Regions from separate parts of the Homo sapiens genome. Here region 2 is linked to region 1. The links are contacts of gene promoters, found by promoter capture Hi-C in human tissues and cell types (Jung and others, 2019). All regions are on one chromosome and are shown on one strand. Each heading gives the region's core, a stretch centred on a gene start or on the middle of the fragment in contact. The rest is flanking DNA. Distances are from core to core; before and after follow the strand shown. Region 1 holds the start of LINC00955 (long intergenic non-protein coding RNA 955). Region 2 has its middle 29 kb from the start of ADRA2C.

Evidence for each region. The method cuts DNA at HindIII sites, captures the fragments that hold promoters and counts their contacts. A contact is called where the count stands out against the background at its distance.
Region 2: a contact is called between a fragment that was not itself captured here and the fragment with the promoter of LINC00955 in region 1, in 6 of the 25 tissues and cell types used here (dorsolateral prefrontal cortex, heart right ventricle, lymphoblastoid cells and 3 more).

The regions. Positions count from the first base shown.
Region 1 is chr4:3,574,021-3,578,607 of GRCh38, forward strand. LINC00955 (long intergenic non-protein coding RNA 955) reads left to right here and starts at 2,849. Exons shown (of 3, transcript NR_040045.1): 1 at 2,849-3,103. The HindIII fragment of the contact is 13,427 bases long and covers 1-4,587 here.
Region 2 is chr4:3,735,188-3,739,703 of GRCh38, forward strand. No RefSeq gene overlaps it. Among named protein-coding and RNA genes, the nearest start is that of ADRA2C, 29 kb to the right of the region's middle. The HindIII fragment of the contact is 4,235 bases long and covers 1-3,695 here.

The DNA.
Region 1 (4,587 bases), core at 1,599-4,098:
TCTGTCATCTCAGCACTTTGGGAGGCCAAGGCAGGTGGAACACGAGGTCAGGAGTTCAAGACCAGCCTGGCCAAGATAGTGAAACCCCGTCTCTACTAAAAATACACAAAAAAATTTAGCCAGGTTTGGCGGAGGGTGCCTGTAATCCCAGCTACTCGGGAGGCTGAGGCAGAGAATTGCTTGAACCAAGGAGGCAGAGGTTGCAGTGAGCCGAGATCGTGCCACTGCACTCCAGCCTTGGTGACAGAGCAAGACTCCATCTCAGAAAAAAAAACAAAACAAAAAACAAAAAACAAAAAAAAAAAACAAAAAAAAACCACCTGTCGGTACAATGCACAGTGCCTGGGTGATGAAATAATCTGTACACCAAGACCCCGTGACACGCGGTTTACCCGTGTAACAGACCTGCACGTGTATACCTAGAACCTCAAATAGAAGTTGGAAGGAAAAAAAAAGAAACAACAAACAAAAATAATCTGAGACTCCCTGAAGGATGAGAACGGGCTGAGCGGGGCCACAGGAGCCCGCACCGGGTCCGCGGAAGGAACTCACACTCCTGCTTCAAGGTGTGGAAGGCGACCCAAGAGGCGGTACACAGACCGCGAGGGAGCGTGCTGTGAGAAGCTCAGGGAGACAGGGCCTGGGAGGCCAGGTGAGGTGTGGGCACAGCCAGGGAGAAACACTGGTGACCCGAGACGCACGGGAACTCGCAGTCACTTGACCAAGTAGCGGCCACGTTTGCGCCACACTTCCATAAACGTGACCAGTAAGGAAGCGACAAGCCTGAAGGGTCCTGACCATTTATTACTCAGGGTACAGCATGTCCTTATCCCTCTGCCTTGTCCCCCACATCTCAGGGGGCAAACAGAGCAGGTTTGTGTCAGCCGAGGAAACCCTTGATCTTCTAAGGGGACTGCTAGCCATCTCGCCCCCATCTTTGCCACAGAAAAGACGGTATCCTTTTGCCCTGGAAGATAAACCAACGTCTCGGGGAGAGGAGGGGCCGCAGGTTTATTTCCCAGAAATGTGTGCAAATCTGCAGACACAGCAGGGAGGTTTTGCTCTCCTGCATGCCTCCAGCGGGCTCTGGCTTGCAAGAATGTCTCATGCAGGCATTCTTCCAGTGCCCTGTGCTTTGAAAAATACGCAGAAAAGCCAGAATTATGGAGGGCAGCCTCCTGGGCTTGTGGGTGTTGGGCAGGTGGAGGGAGACGTATGGAATCTTCTGGTCTCCAGGCAGCTGTGCAGTGCACCGGTCGGTGGGATCAGTCAAGGAGGTTCAGAGCAGGATGGAGGAACCGCTCCAGGGATTTCCAGCAGAGAGGGGTTTGTTGCAGGGAAGGAGATGGATCCTGGGACCCTGGAGTTCGCACCCCTGCTCTGTCTGCTGCAGTGCTCCGGGGGTACACAGCCCAGCCCAGGGTCGCCCCGGTCATGTGCCCCCAGCACCAGCCCCTGGGCCTTTTATATGTTTCTGGGATGCTGCCTGTCTTCCAGTGCCATCAGGAAAGGCTCGGGGAGCTGGGCCTCACTGGACGCCATACCCCTCCCGCTGGAACAGTGCGTAGGTGTTCCGCCCTCCAGGGCAGACTGACCGCAGGATGAACGCCCCCGCCCCACAGGTGCCCAGCGCTTCACAGCTCACAGAGCCCTTCGACCTCCCTGGCCTGGGATGACCCTCTCAACACCCCCAGGAGGAGACACCGGTGCTGCCTTCAGCAGGGAAACCTGGGCTTGGATAGGTGCAGCGGCTCCTCCAAGGTGGCCAAGCTGCCTGGCCCTCGCTCATGAATTCTGAGTAGCCCCTCCTGTCACTGCCACCCACTGCTCTCCCCGGAGGCCTGTGTGTCCTTTGTTCTCTCCTGAGGATGGCTGTGGCCTCCTCCTGTTCCTGACAGGGCCCGGTGCCCACTGGCTCATGTCAGAGTTCAGGCCTGAGGGGAGGGGTGTTTGTGCTAACAGGAGGCAGAGGGCAGCCTGCCAGTCTGGCCCTGTGGCCACCTGAGCTGTCCCCTGGGACCCGTGGCTTCATGACTCTGACCCAGTGGATGCTGTCTTCATAGTCTGAGTGGGAGCCAGGTTTGACCTTGGAGTGCCTGGGGCATAGAGTCCCTGTCCTCTGGAGGAAGAGATGGTCATCCCTTTTCATGCTGACTGGCCCCAGGGCAGGACCTGCTCTTTTGGACCCTAAAAGGGACAAGGCCTGGTGGCAGAGCAGAGCTGGGGCTCAGGAGAGGGAGACGGGTGGGAGGAAGGGAGGAAGAGGAAGAGAAGGAGGAAAGGGGGAGATGAGGAAGGGGGAGGAAGAGGAGGAGGAGGAGAAGGAAGAGGAGGAGGAGGAGATGACTCAGGCACCCACGGCATTACTGTGGCAGGCTGGCCCTCGGTTTCCCCAGCAGTAAATGAAGAGATGGGGTCAAGGGGCCCAGGCCCCCTTCCAGATCTGAGACCTGCGCATCAGGCTGTCTGTATTCAGAGGAAGCCGGGGATGGCAGCTCCCAGCCGTGGGCTCGGCCTTCATTCACTGTACAGGCTCATCCATTCACCCAGTGAACCCTCCCGAGTCCCTTCATGAGGGCGGCCTCGCAGGGACTTTGGTCTCGGCTCTGCCCTGTCCTGGCCTTGGGACCCTGGGTGAGCTGAGGCAACCCAGTTTCCTGGTCTGTGACTCCAGGCTCTGTCCTCGCCCCATCGCCCCCCATCGTGGCACAGGTTCGAGGGTGTTGGCTTGCCTGGCCTCCTGAGGGCCTTCTGGGGTTAAAGTCTTCTATCCTGAGGCTGAGACCAGGGCTGGGGAGGAGGTTCAGCCCCTGTGGACTTTATCCTCCCTCTCCACGGCTGAGTCTTGATTTACAGCTGGAAGGGCAGACGGAGGCATCTTGGTGTATACACAGCCCTGCTGGGCCACATCCCGGGTCTCCTCCCTCTGCGATGCCATAGCAGGGGCGCCTTCCGAAAGCCCTCTGGATTGAGGCAGCAGGATCTATGGTGGAACCTGCCCCGGCGTCGCCAACGCCCCTAGGACCCCAGCACACTGACTGGGGAGCATCCCTGTGTCGTTTCTGCCCGGAGAGGAGCAGAGGCCAGGCTGCTGCTCTGGGAGGTGAGTGTCATGCCTGGGAACACAGCGGGGACCCCAGGGAGGGAGAGCAGGTGTTTGCTCCCTGGGCTCTGCCTGGTGGTCCTGACAGCAGTCCTGACTGTTGCGAAGGCTGTTTTTTGGTGGCTTCCTTAGGGTCCTCGCTGTGCTCTCGGTCCCAGCACTGTCTGCTCTCCTTCCTGGTTATTTGAATGACCCGGCTCCTGTTGCTGTATCCCGGGTCCTGACCTCCCCTGAGATGGACTCTGTTCAGGCTAGACTGCCTCAAGGGACCCGCTTCAGTCTATTTGTGGCAGAAAAGGTTAGCTGGCTCCTGGGAAATGTCAGGGGATAAGTCAAAGCTGGCCAGCGGCAAGGCCCAGTGACGCCCTGTCATTTTATGACTCCCTTTTCTTAATCAGTCGAGGAGAAAAACAAGCAATGAAGGATTTTCCATGGCAACCACCAGCAGGGCAGTGTTCTCTCCCTACCTGAGCTTGTTTTAAGAAGAGGGGTCTGGCCAGAGGCTGCTGACCCTGGCCCCAGAGGGCAGGGGTCGAGTGTCCTGGAGTGTGACTCCCAGGCACCTGGGCTTGGGCTGGGCCCCTGGAGCAGGCGCAGCTAATCTGGCCAATCTACTCCTTCACACTCATGGAGCAAATGGGGAAACAACCCAGAGAGGGGCAGCCCAAGGAAGCAAATTTGTAGAGCCTGACACTCTGAGAGAGCTCTCAGAAGGATACTAGTCTTCTAAACCAGAAACTTATTCATATAATAATAATAATGTTTATAATAATAACATTATTAATTCCTTCACCATCCACCCACTTACTCACCCTCTTACCCATCTGTCCATTCAACTCATCCACCCCCACATCCAGCCAGCTTCCATCCTATCATACATTCATCCACCTACCCGTCCACCCTTTCATCCTTCCTTTCTTTCATCACCCACCCATCCTCTCACTCATTCATTCATCCATCCACCCATCCATCCATCTACCCATTCATCCACCCATTCATTTATTCACTCTCCCATCCACCCATCCATTCACCCTTTCTTTCTTTCATCATCCATCTATCCACCCATCCATCCATTCATCCACATATTCGTCCACCCATTCATTATTCACTTATCTATCCATCCTTCCAACCATCCATCCATTCATCCACCTATTCTATTCACCCACCCATCCTTTCATGCTTTCTTTCTTTCATCATCCATCCATCCATCCATCCATCCATCCATCCATCCATCCGTCCATCCATCCATCCACCTATTCCATTCACCCACCTATCCATTCATTCACTCACTCATCCATCCATCCACCCATCCGTCCTCCCTTTCTTTCATCACCCACCCATCCATTCACTCACCCATCATCCATCCACCCAGCTAGCCAGCTTCCATGTCTATATCCAACTACTCACTCATCCATTCACCCATCAACCTAACTAAACTTGTTTTCTCCCATGTAACACAATACTTATCCACCCATCCATCCGTC
Region 2 (4,516 bases), core at 328-2,827, 160 kb after region 1:
TTGAGCACCCTATGTACCAGGCAGTGCCCTCTCACCCTGGAGGACGCAGCTAGACCCCCAGGCTCTAGGGGAGAAGGCCCATCCCATGGGCCAGGTGGGGCAGAGGCGAGGCTGTCAGGAGACGCGGCACAGGGATGGGCCTGGAGCTCTGGAGGAGTGCGAGGGCCTAGCAGCGGCTGTGACCTGGGGACGAGGTTGTGACTGTGGCAGCTGGCTCTTCCCAGGGGCTGGGTGGCCCAGGAGCTCAGTCGGTTGCCCGTGAATGTGGCCCAGTGCACACCTGGCCCCAGGTTCCATGTGAGGAGGCCCCAGCAGGAGGGGACAAGACGGTCTTGGGCTCAGCCCCATGAAGCTTACGTTCTAGTGCAGGAGAGCGATGGAAGCCAGAGGAGCCGGTGGGCAAACGAACAGAATCCCAAAAAGCTGTGGGTCCAACCACAGACCCAGCTCCACCTCCCACGTCCCTCCACAGCGTCCAGGCTGGGGGTGTCCTCGGTCCTGGGACCATGCCTGGCCCTACTAGGCCTGGCCCTGAGATGCCTTGACATTCAAAAATCAGCCAGGAGTGTGTGGATGGTGATGACTGTGTAAGTATCACTCAGGGTGAGGCCAGGCCTGCCGTGACGTCTTCTCCCACAATCCCTGGGAATTTGAGGGTAACTGCAGAGCAAGTGGGTTATTTTTTTGTTTGTTTGAGACAAGGTCTCGCTCTGTCGCCCAGGCTGGAGTGCAGTGGCATGATCTTGGCTCACTGCAGCCTCAAGCTCCTGGGCTCAAGCAATCCTCCTGCCTCAGCCTCCTGAGTAGCTAGGACCACAGGCATGGTCCAGGGTTTCGCCATGTTGCCCAAGCTGGTCTCAAACTCCTGGGCTCAAAAGATCTGCCTGCCTCTGCCTCCCAAAGTGCTGGGATTCCAGGCGTGAGCCACCGCCCCCAGCCAAATGGGTTCTTTACTCATTCTCCACTCATTGTTCCAGATCATATCACATTTCAGTCTTTCCCCAAGTCTCCTGTGTGATTTCTTGTTTTCGTGGAGATTTAATGACCCAATTTTTATATGTATGCCTTTATTTATCATTATTTTTCTCCCTCAAAATCGTTGTTTCTCCATCATAACATCCATTCTGTCCCACCCCCTGCTGCCCAGAAGCCTCCCCGCATCCCCTGGTGTCTGTTCCAGTGTGGACTGGTTGTCCCCAGGTCTGCTCCACTATTCCCGACCTTCCCTTCCCTCCACACAGAGCTGGATCTACAGAGTCATAGTGCCTGTGTTTCCCTTTCTTTGTTTTGCCACCTGCTCCTGCTGGAGCACATCCTCAAGTAACTTCCTAGCAACAAGGGTATGAAAAACAAATACGTGTGCTCTGGCATTTGTGAAAATGTTTTTATTCTGTCCTCTCACTTGATAAACCATTTGACTGTGTATAGAATGCCAGGTCGAACATTACTTGCCTCAGAACCGAGAAAGCATCTTCTCCCCAGACTCCAGTGTTGCCAGTGAGATCTAGAAAGTCAATTAGTTGGGTGTGGTGGTGCGTGCCTGTAGTCCCAGCTACTCTGGAGGCTGAGGCAGGAAGATGGCTTGAACCCGGGAGGCAGAGGTTGCAGTGAGCCGAGATCGAGCCACTGCACTCCAGCCTGGTGACAGTGAGACTCTGTCTCAAAAAAAAAAAGTCCTTCTGATTCTGCTCCCTTTGTGGCTCACCTGTTTTCTTTTCCTGGAAATTTGGAAGCCATCCATGGAGATTGGAAATTCAGCAACGATGCCTCTGGCTATGGGCTATTTTCCTCCCACCATCCAGGGAAGGCCACAGGAAATGGAAGAAATCGTGACACTGGTGCTGTACCATCTGTTCTGTGAATTCCCTGGCCATCGTCTCCCTCTGTTTCCTGTGTTTCTTATTGGGACTCTGTCTGTCCGATATTAGGTCCTCTGGTTTGGTCCTTTACTTTTGTTTTAATCTAAATTCTGGTGGATGTTCTCGACTTTATTTTCCATATTCTCTGCTGAAGTTTGTATTTTGGCAATTGTATTTCAACCTCCCAGTGTTCTTTCTTGTTCTCTCATTGTTTCTATTTGTGTCTTCCTATGATTGTGATATTTTCATGAGTCCTCTGAGCACTTTCATTAGAAGTTCTTGTTTTTAAGCTTAATGTGCTGGGACTTGTTTCAAGAGCCCCTGCTTCCCCTGAGGTCCATGCTGCCGTTTCAGGCTGTTGGAGGGATGCTGGGCAGGGGCAGGCGGGAGCAACCTCTGCTCTTGTCTGAGTAGCTCTTCTTTCCCCTGGGGTAGGACAAGGTGTCACCTGGAAGCTCCGCTTTGAGGGAATGGCAAAGCGGCCACCTCTCCCGCTTGGTGTCCCAGGAGCTGGAAGGAGACAGGCCTTTGGGGGGCCTGCTGGTATCCACAGGCAGTTCTTTTGAGTTGCTTGGAGAATAATCTAATTTACTTCCTGGGGTATAAGCTTCCTGTCTTCACTCCAAGTGAGGAATTGGGGGTGAGGGGCAGTTGTCCCCTCCAGCCCCTCCTCTCACACCTGCCTTTGGCTGTCCCTGGGCTCTGAGTCCGGAGCCCACCCTGCTTCACCCCTGCGGCCACTCGTGGAGACGCCAGGCTGTGGGTTTCTCTTCCGTTCACCGAGAGTCCACTCCCATTCCTTTCCATGGTCCAGAAACTGGTTGGCGTCTCTCACTGCTTGGCACCTGTATCCCTCCCAAGCTCCTTCCTGGCATGAACCAGTTCTCACTTGTTCTTCTGTGGGGTCTCAGGAGGGGTGAGATGGGCACAGAGCCTGGTAATTCCACTGGGGTTTGGATAAGCCAGGAAGGGATACGATGAGACAGGCATTTTAGGGGGGCCTTTGGAGGCCGCTCAGAGGATGGGCTGGATAGGGGAGGCGCTCACAGTAAGGAGGGCAGGTAGGAGGTCACCACCGGCCCCAGGGCAGTGAGGATGAGGCTGACTGCGGCTTGAGAGGGCTGTCCCACGTGACACAGTGGAGGGGTGGACTGTGGCTTATTCATCTCCACTGAGGCAAGGCTGGGCATAGGACAGGCTGTGAGGACAGTGAGCGGAAAGGAGACAGGAAGGTGGGGCGTTTCTGGTGGGGTGAGGGTGGCACTCCTGCAGACCCTCAGTGGCTGCTACAGCAGAGAGCCGGGGAGGTGAGGTGGCCTGCTCCCTCGCCACCCACGGAGGAGTGGGCCCTGCTCATCCCTGGCTTTGCCCGTCCACTGGTGTGATTCACTGTCGCTTACCCTGGAGAGACGGCTGCCCCAGGTTTATTTATTTATTTATTTTTAAATTTTTTTATTTTATTTTATTTTTTGAGACAGAGTCTCGCTCTGTTGCCCAGACTGGAGTGCAGTGGCGTGATCTCGGCTCACTGCAAGCTCCGCCTCCTGGGTTCATGCCATTCTCCTGCCTCAGCCTTCCCAGTAGCTGGGACTACAGGTGCCCACCACCGCGCCCGGCTAATTATTTTTTATTTTTTAGTAGAGACGGGGTTTCACCATGTTAGCCAGGATGGTCTCGATCTCCTGACCTTGTGATCCGCTCACCTTGGCCTCCCAAAGTGCTGGGATTACAGGCATGAGCCACCGCGCCTGGCTAGGTTTAAACTGGACAGCTTCCCGGGGCCAGCCTACAAGCGGCGCCCACAGGGCCGGAGAGGCCATGAGATGATAAGATGCAACCTCTGCGTTTGTCAAAGAGAGCTCCGGGTGGGGTTGGAGAGGGACCTGGGTGAGCTGCTTGGCCTGGAGGTCAGGTCTTCCCTGGGGGAGGCCAGGGAGCTCTGCATGGCCTTGACCCCCTGCAAAGAGGGTAGGGGCGGCGTGGGGCTTTAGTTCTGCCCCGTGCAGTGGGCAAATTGGGCCCATGCTTGGGGTTATGGGGGAACTGTGTTATCCCAAAATTCATATTGAAGTCCCAACCCCAGGACCTCAGAGTGGGCCCTTATTTGGAAATAAGGTCGTTGGAGATGTCATGAGTTAAGATGAGGTCATGCTGGGATAGGGAAGCCCCTAATTCAATCTGGCTGATGTCCTTATAAAGGGGGAGATTTGGACACAGGCACGGAGGGAGAGTGCCGTGGGAGGAAGAAGGCAGGGGTCGGGGTGTCACTTCCTCAAGCCAAGGAGCGGCCGCGGCTGCTGGCGCCACCAGGAGCTGGGTAGAGGATGGGACCATTCTTCCCTCGCAGCCTCGAGGGGAGCCAGACCTGCCCACACCCTGACCCGGACTCCCGGCCTCCAGAGCTGGGAGAGGAGATCTTTCTGTTTCTGTTGTTTAGGCCCCAGTCTGTGGCACTCTTTATGGCAGCCCTGGGGATCTCATATGTTCGGGGTACAGAGAGGAGGCTTGGCTGCCTGGGGCTCCCTCTCTCCACCTGGCCCCACCAACAGCTGCAGTTCTGGGTCCAGCACAGCCTCATGCTCCCACCCTGGAGGCCTGACACCGAGGGTCGGGGGAATGAGGCCAGTCCTGACCTGGCCTGTGGCAGGTGCAGCTGT